Linked DNA regions of Homo sapiens: region 1 is linked to region 2. The links are contacts of gene promoters, found by promoter capture Hi-C in human tissues and cell types (Jung and others, 2019). All regions are on one chromosome and are shown on one strand. The core of a region is centred on a gene start or on the middle of the fragment in contact, and the rest is flanking DNA. Distances in the headings are between cores, read along the strand shown.

Evidence for each region. The method cuts DNA at HindIII sites, captures the fragments that hold promoters and counts their contacts. A contact is called where the count stands out against the background at its distance.
Region 1: a fragment that was not itself captured here is called in contact with the fragment with the promoter of AUTS2 in region 2 in 2 of the 25 tissues and cell types used here (H1 embryonic stem cells and hippocampus).

Annotation. Positions count from the first base shown.
Region 1 is chr7:69,491,564-69,495,624 of GRCh38, reverse strand. No RefSeq gene overlaps it. Among named protein-coding and RNA genes, the nearest start is that of CT66, 100 kb to the left of the region's middle. The HindIII fragment of the contact is 4,629 bases long and covers 1-3,935 here.
Region 2 is chr7:69,596,067-69,600,214 of GRCh38, reverse strand. It overlaps AUTS2 (activator of transcription and developmental regulator AUTS2), which reads right to left and starts at 1,740. Exons shown (of 19, transcript NM_015570.4): 1 at 253-1,740. The coding sequence starts at 561. CT66 (cancer/testis associated transcript 66) reads left to right here and starts at 2,591. Exons shown (of 3, transcript NR_148927.1): 1 at 2,591-3,168; 2 at 3,524-3,560; 3 at 3,782-4,148. RefSeq lists silencers at 427-496, 1,661-1,740, 1,761-2,180 and enhancers at 1,261-1,310, 2,491-2,570. The HindIII fragment of the contact is 7,960 bases long and covers 1-4,148 here.

The DNA of each region.
Region 1 (4,061 bases), core at 372-2,871, 100 kb after region 2:
ACAGGCGCCACGACGCCAGCTAATTTTTTTTTTTTTTGAGACAGAGTCTCACTCTGTCACCCAGGCTGGAGTGCAGTGGTGCGATCTCAGCTCAGTGCAACCTCTGCCTCCCGGGTTCAAGCGATTCTCCAGCCTCAGCCTCCCAAGTAACTGGGACTACAGGTGAGCACCACTGCGTCTGGCTAATTTTTGTATTTTTAGTAGAGACCAAGTTTCACTATGTCGGCCAGGCTGCTCTCGAACTCCTAACCTCAGGTGATCCGCCCGCTTCGGCCTCCCAAAGTGCTGGGATTTCAGGCCTGAGCCACCGCACCCGGCCTAATTTTCGTATTTTTAGTAGAGACGGGGTTTCACCATGTTGGCCAGGCTGGTCTTGAACACCTGACCTCAGGTGATCTGTCCGCCTCGGCCTTTCAAAGTGCTGGGATTACAGGCGTGAGCCACTGCACCAGGCCGACTCCCACTCTTCCTCCCTCCTCCATGTCTCAGCTCGGTTTGTTCCAAGCTGGCTCTGTTCTCAGCAGGGCTTCCGACTCTTCGTCCTAGGTTGACACTCAGCTACTTCCAGGACAGTGGCTCTCAACTGGGGGTGATTTTATATTTCCCCTTAGGGGACATTTGGCAATGTCGGGAAACACTTTTGCTTGTTACAACTCTGGGAAAGGGATGTGATGCTGCTAGCATCTGGTGGGTAGAGAACAGGGGTGCTGCTAAACATCCCTTAATGTACAGGACAGCACATCAAAGAATTGCTCAGCCCATAATGTCAGTGCTGCTGAGATTGAGAAACTCTGTCCCAGGTCTGCAAGCTTCCTCTTCCATGTTCAGTAGAGAAGAGAGAATCTATATTCCAGAATTCCCATGAAAAATTCTTGATTAGATCAGTGTGGGCTGGGCACGGTGGCTCATGCCTGTAATCCCAGCACTTTGGGAGGCCAAGGCGGGCAGATCACGAGGTCAGGAGATCGAGACCATCCTGGCTAACACGGTGAAACCCCGTCTCTACTAAAAATACAAAAAGTTAGCCAGGTGTGGTTGCAGGCGCCTGTAGTCCCAGCTACTTGGGAGGCTGAGGCAGGAGAATGGCCTGAACCCGGGAGGCGGAGGTTGCAGTGAGCCAAGATCGTGCCACTGCTCCAGCCTGGGCGACAGAGCGAGACTCCGTTTCAAAAAAAAAAAAAAAAAAAAAAAGATCAGTGTGATAGGTCATGTCTACCTTTTTTTTTTTTTTGAGACAGAGTCTCCTTCTGTCACCCAGGCTGGAGTGCAGTGGCATGATCTCAGCTCACTGCAACCTCCGTTTCCCGGGTTCCTGCCTCAGCCTCCCGAATAGCTGGGATTACAGGCACCTGCTGCCACGCCTGGCTAATTTTTGTATTTTTAGTAGAGACAAGGTTTCACCACGTTGGCCATGCTGTTCTCAAACTCCTGACCTCAAGTGACCCCCCTGCCTCGGCCTCCCAGAGTGCTGGGATTATGGGCATGAACCACCGCACCTGGCAACAGATCCTCTTTTCAAAAGATACTTCCTCTCCTTTGCAACTGCAGTCTTTACTGTTTACTTCCCCTTCTTCCCCAGCCTTTTATTATCTTGACAGACTTAGCTTCTTTACTTCAATCCTCCTCTTAATTTTTTTTTTTTTTTGGCCTCTTTGCCATTAGTGGGTGGAGAAGGGAAGGCATGGAATACACATATTAAATCTTGCTTTTGTTATTTATGCATACATTTATTTTACATGGTTGGAAGCATGTTATATACCAACTCCCCTACCCCCCCGCCCACACACATAATATTGAGTGTCATGATTTTTTCTCTTAATATTGTATAATAAACACTTTCTCATGCTATTAAAAACTATTTGCAGGCCAGGCATGGTGGCTTACTCCTGTAACCCCAGCATTTTGGGAGGCCAAAGCAGGTGGATTGCTTGTGGCCAGTTCAAGATCAGCCGGGGCAACATGGCAAAACCCTGTCTCTAAAAAAAACACAAAAATTAGCTGGGCATGGTGGCGCACACCTGTGGTCCCAACTACTCAGAAGGCTGAGGTGGGAGGATCACTTGAGTCCAGGAGGTGGAAGTTATAGTGAACTGAGATTGCGTGGCTGCTTTCCAGCTTGGGTGACAAAGTGAGACCCTGTCTCAAAAAAAACAAACAAACAAACGAAAAAACTATTTGCAATGACCATTTAAAAATTTTGCATTTGGCCAGGCGCAGTGGCTCATGCCTGTAATCCTAGCACTTTGGGAGGCCAAGGCAGGCAGATTACTTGAGGTCAGGACTTTGAGACTAGCCTGGACAACATGGTGAAACCCCACCTTTACTAAAAATACAAAAATTAGCCAGGTATGGCAGCACATGCCTGTAATCCCAGTTACTCAGGAGGCTGAGGCAGGAGAATTGCTTGAACCTGGGAGGCGAAGGTTGCAGTGAGCCGAGATTGCACCACTGCACTCCAGCCTGGGTGACAGAGCTAGACTCTGTCTCAAAATAAATAAATAAATAAATAAATAAAAATAAAAATAAAATTCCACACAAAAATTCATCATATAGACAAGCTTAAATTATTAATTACCTATTAGTTTTCCCTGAATTTGATATCTTTTATAGTAAATTTATAGAATATGAGAATGGATTCTTTATGTGGCCATTTCTTGGACTTTAGGAGCAAAACTAATGTTAGGCCAGTATTTGCTTTCTGTTGGCTGTGAGTGTAGGGACAGGGTTTCAAGTAGTTTTCAGACTGGGTGAGGTGGCTCACAACTGTAATCCTAGCACTTTGGGAGGCCAAGGCAGGTGGGTCGCTTGAGCCCAGGAGTTGGAGACCATCCTGGGCAACACAGTAAAACCCCGTTTCTATTTATTAAAAAATATAAAAATTTTTTAGAAAGAAAAAAAATCTAGTTTCCAAATGACTGGAGCCTGATCATGTTTGAGTTACCTGGGGGATTTGTTAAAAGTGCACATTCTGAAGCCCTGATTTAGACCCCCTGAATCAGAATCTCTATACCTGGAGCCTGAACAAAGATCCTCTAATCATTCTGATGAATAGTTAGGTTTTGGAACCACTGACATTGTTGACCTATGGCCAGCTTGTGCTGTGTATACATTCTTATTCATAAATACAGGACCAGTTATTATAAAAATGAGACTTTGGAAGTATAGTTCCTGAATGGTACTTGGGGTGGATATTTGTCATTCATCACAGTCATGTAGCAACTGAATCCCATTCTCTGCTTAGGAAAAGCCTCATTTTTTGAATCTTGGTTTAGGGCAAAAACTACCCTGTATAAGCCCTAAAACTATCACTTTTTTTCATTTATTTATTTATTCATTTATTTATTTAATTTTGAGACAAAGTCTTGCTCTGTCACCCAGGCTGGAATGCGGTGGTGCGATCTCGGCTCACTGCAAGCTCCACCTCCCAGGTTCACGCCATTCTCTTGCCTCAGCCTCCTGAGTAGCTGGGACTACAGGCTCCCGCCACCAAGCCCGGCTAATTTTTTTGTATTTTTAGTAGAGACGGGGTTTCACCATGTTAGCCAGGATGGTCTCGATCTCCTGACCTCGTGATCTGCCTGCCTCGGCCTCCCAAAGTGCTGGGATTACAGACGTGAGCCACCGCGCCCGGCCCACTTTTTTTCTTTTAGAGACAAGAGTCTCGCTCTGTCAGCCAGGCTGGAGTGCAGTGGTGCAATCATAGCTCACTGAAGCCTCGAACTCCTGGGCTTAAGAGATTGTCCCACCTCAGCCTCCTGAGTGTCTGGGACTACAAGTGTGCATCATTACACCTGGCTGATTAATTTTTTTTTTTTTTTTGTAGAAATGGAGTCTTGCTATGTTGTCCAGGCTGGTCTTGAACTCCTGGCCTCAAGTGATCCTCTTGCCTTGGCCTCCCAAAATGCTGGGATTACAGGCATGACTGAACATGCCAGGTCCTTAAAAATAATCTAAATTTGTTTTCCTAGTGTCCTTTGAAACTAGCGTTCAGGCATGTGACTTAGGCTGTGCCATTGGTTATAACCATGTCAAACTGGCTCTGGTCCCAAAGTTACAAGGCA
Region 2 (4,148 bases), core at 491-2,990:
GGTGCAGGGAGGGGGCGCAGGGGAAAGGCGAGCGAGGAAACGAGACCAGGCACGGCTTTGCGACTCCCTCCTGCTGCCTGTCTGCCCGCGCCCCCAGCTCCCCCCACCAACAATAAGACCTCAGCCTAGACAGACAGACAGACAGACAGACAGACAGACAGCCCGGAGCGCGGCGAGGGAGGCAGGAGAGCCGGGCGCAGCCGAGTGGGGTCGTGCATAAAGGGAACCCGGGGGAAGGGGGGTCCCCCTTACCTCCAGCGCTTCAAAAGTGACAAAGCTGGTCATGGCAAATCCATCAATGATGTCCTCTTCTGCCGAGGTGGACTCTCTCCGCTTCCTCCGCGGGGGTCTGGGCCGGGACGGGGCGGAGGACGGGGGCTTCCCATTGTCTTCCTTGTCGGAGCCCGACGACGAGGCGAGTGAGAGCGCCCGGGTCCGGCCAGCCCCGCCGCCGCCGGCCGCGCCGGCCCCCAGCCCGCCCCGGGAGCGCCTCTCCCGGTCTCGCTGCGACCGCGACCGCCGCTTTTTGCGGAGTCCATGGCCCCGCGTCGGGCCATCCATGGTTCTGCTGCGCCGGGGTCTCCCCGCTTGCCCGCCACAGGCTACGGCCGCAGCCACACAAAAAAAAATTGACACCGAGCCCTCCCTCCCCCTTCACGGCTTCCCTCCGCCCCGAGGAGGGCGCGGGGGAGACGGCGGCCGAAAGAAGGGAGAGAGGGGAAGAAAGAGAGGAGAAAGAAAAGGGGGAAGGGGCGGAGAGAGGGGAGGAGGGACGGGGAGCGAGGGCGAGAGGCGAGGAGCCCAAGTGTGGGGCTCCCCACAGCACCGAGGGTCGGAGATGCCTGGGAGCAGCGCCGAGCAAAGTAATGGCTGAACACACAGGTCTCCTTTAGAGGAAAAAAAAATAACTCACCAAGCAAGCAATAAATCAGAATAGCGGAATGCTTTGATCAAGAGACTGGGAGGCTCCGGGGAGCCCTCCCCGCGGCCATTCTCCGCCGCGCCCCCCGCCCCCCGAAAACGCCCGCGCCCCCCTCAACTCGATCCAAAATCGGGTCCGAAAAAGGTCGCGGGAAAAGTGGGGGCAATGAACTTCACCCGCCCCTCGCGCAGGAAAACACCCCCGCCGCCTCTCACACACGCCTCGGAGAAAACTCACTCCCAGGCTCCCAAATTTTTAAGAAATGCAGCCAGGGGAGGCCGGGGCTCCGGAGCGACCCAAGAGGGGCGAGACCCCCCAGAGAGGGGAGCATAATAATGCAATCATTAGCGGAAGAGAGGGCGAAACTGCGAGCGGCGGAGGAGAAGGGAGGCGGAGGAAGGGAAGGAGGATGCTGCTGGAGCAGTTGTGGGGTTTGCTTTTCGGTCTTCGAGGGGGGAGGAGAGGGAGATGAAAGAAGAGAAGAAGCAAACCCTGTCGCTGCCACCCGCCCCCCTCCTCACAAAAATATTTTTTCCAGTCCCAGAGAAGAGGTCACCCTTCCTCAAAAAAGGGAGGGGGTGAGTCAGTCAGTCGATGAGGAAAGCAGAAAGAAATCTCCAGCGGGAGAGACACCGGTGTGCCGCCGCCGCCGCCGCCGCTTCTCTCGCCGCCCCGCCTGAGGGAGAAGCGCAGCCGGGAACGCTGCTCTCGCCGCCGCCGCTAACGCTGCTGCTGCTGCCGCCGCCGCCGCCGAGAAAGCCCCGAGCCGGAGGGTGCACGGCGTGTCCCCGGGCGGCTGCAGCGGGAGCCCGGGCACTGCCCCATCCTCCGCCCGCCCGCCTGCCTCGCGCAGCTCCCGCTCCTCCCCCTCCGCGGCCAGCCCACCGCCGCCGCCGCCGCCGCCGCCCGCCTCAGCCCAACCCCGCGCCCGCCCGCTCGCTCGCTCGCTCGCTCGCTCGTTCGTGCTTTCGCTCGCTCGCTCGAGTGCGCGCGCTCCCGCGCACCCGCCCTCCCCGCGCCTCTCTCGGCGCGCGCTCCCGCCCCCGCGGCCCCGGCCGGCGGGATCACGTGGACGGCTGGGCTCCCTCCTCCCCCGCCCCCTCCCCAGTTGTAGAGTGTGTAGAAAGCAAAAGGCTGGGGGCTGGCCGCGCTCGCGAGCCCAGGGCATGCGCGCTGGGGCGGCCGGGCCTGCGCACTGGGGGCGGTGGGGAGCTGTGAGGGGGGCGGGGGCGGGGGCGTGGAGGGGGCGCCCGCGTGGGGTCGGCCGCGGCCGGGCAGAGTTGGCGCGCCAGGGCGTGGAAGCCGCCGGAGGATCCCGCCTGTCGCAGCGGGGACGCGTGTGGGCCCCTGCTCCCAGGCCACTTCGCGCGCGCGCCCCCCACATCCTCCTCGGGACACTTGTCCCTGGATCCTCTACCCCTGGCCGGCCCGAGGCCGCCTTCTCGGGAAGCCCCACCAGCCCCCAAGGGTGTTTTCCCTTGGCTACCTGCGCTGCGAGGAGAGAAGGGAATTCAGAGAAGGGGTACAAGGGGGGCGTCCCTGGGAGGGGGCGCGACTGGAGGAGACAGAACGGGGAGCGGGTGCCAAAGCGCGGGCCTTTGCTCCGCCTGGGCGCAGTGGGAGCACCAACTGGCAGAGTTGGAAACTTTTCCTCCACGTGGCACCACAGTGCGTGGACGAGCGACCCCGCGCCCGGATGACCCCTGGGATTCCCGCCTCGTCTTCCAGCGGGGGACCTAGGGACGCACGGGCGGCTTCAGATCCGGGAGCGCGAGGCCTAACAGCCGGGGGCCGAACTTGAACCTCGGAGGCGGCCGCGGGCGAGGGGCGGGGCCGAAGGGGCCGGGACCGCCGCCCCAGCTCGAGGACCCGTTAGACCGGCAAACCGCAGTCCCTGCCCCGCGGGCTTCCTTTACTTTTTGGGAGTGGGGGGCGGTTTCCCTGCTTTTTCCACCACAGCCCCTCCTCCCGCCGCAATGTGGCTGATGCTCATAAAAAGTTGTATTAAAGAGCTGACTGCAGCCGAGAATCGATCAACAAAAGCGACCAGCCTCTCTGGGTAAAATAGCTGTGCGTTTTTCAGGGCACTGGAATTGATCTATACGGATCAGAAAGACCGACAGCCCGCTCTCAGCAGCCTCTTGGATACGCTTCACTTTCTGTCCAGGCACATAAACACCACGGCACCAACCCTTCGTCCTCCCTAGTAGCCCATACTTGTGGAGGAAGAAAAGGAAAATAAACTGGCATGTATTAATTACAATGGGCCAGGCACCGTGCTAGAGCGCTGTGTATATGATTTCACCTCTTTAGAATACAAATGTGCACATTTTATTAGTATTACTGGAAGGAGGGTGGTAGAGAAAACAGTAAGGACGTGTTTTCTCTCACAATCTGACACATCTATGATTGAGTGATTGATTGTTTTTCATTTAACAATTATTAGGCCTTACCAGGCTTAGCAGGCACAGTTGTAGGTGCTGGGAATACAGCGTTGTACAAAACAGAAAAGATACTGCTTCTTGACGTTCTAGCAGGCAAGCCTCTCTCGTCTTATAATTCCTAATAACAATTTAATAGCTTGTCTTTCTCTTGTTTTAGGTCACACTCCTTCAGCTTCCCCGTTTCTGAATCCCAGGTCTGGATCTTTATGAAATCAGATGGAGAGATGGGGTTGGGGGGACGGGGGGGTCAAGTTGCCAGGAACAGAAAGGAACATCCACCCGACTGTGACAGATGAGCTTTATGCCAGTCCAGGAAACAAAACATTTGACCTTAGGCAAGACTTTTTTAAATGACTAGTTTTTTCATCTGTAAATCAAAGAGGTTCAATTAAATGTTCAAAATGTTCCTTTTCAGGTCTATCCACGGCCTTCTCAACAGATGACTTCAAGTTGATTTCGTGCTTTATTTCTTAAGAATAGTGACTAACCTAAGGGATCTGATTCAATTTATTAGGAACACAGTGCCACCTTCCAAAATTACTTACCTAAGAGGACTGAGCCTGCTGTCCCTGGAGCAGTTAGCTAAAACAGTGCCTCAGTACGGAGCGTACCTGTGTTAACTTCTAGAGTGCTGTTTCCGGCAGCTGCTGAAATCCACGCTGAGGTTATCAAGCTCATCCTACAAAATAAAGCAAGTTCTTCGCAATTTAAAGCAAAAATCTGGGCTTATTTTTAGGGTTTTGGGGGATGTGAAAGTTGTCTTAGATAAGATTCCAGGAAAG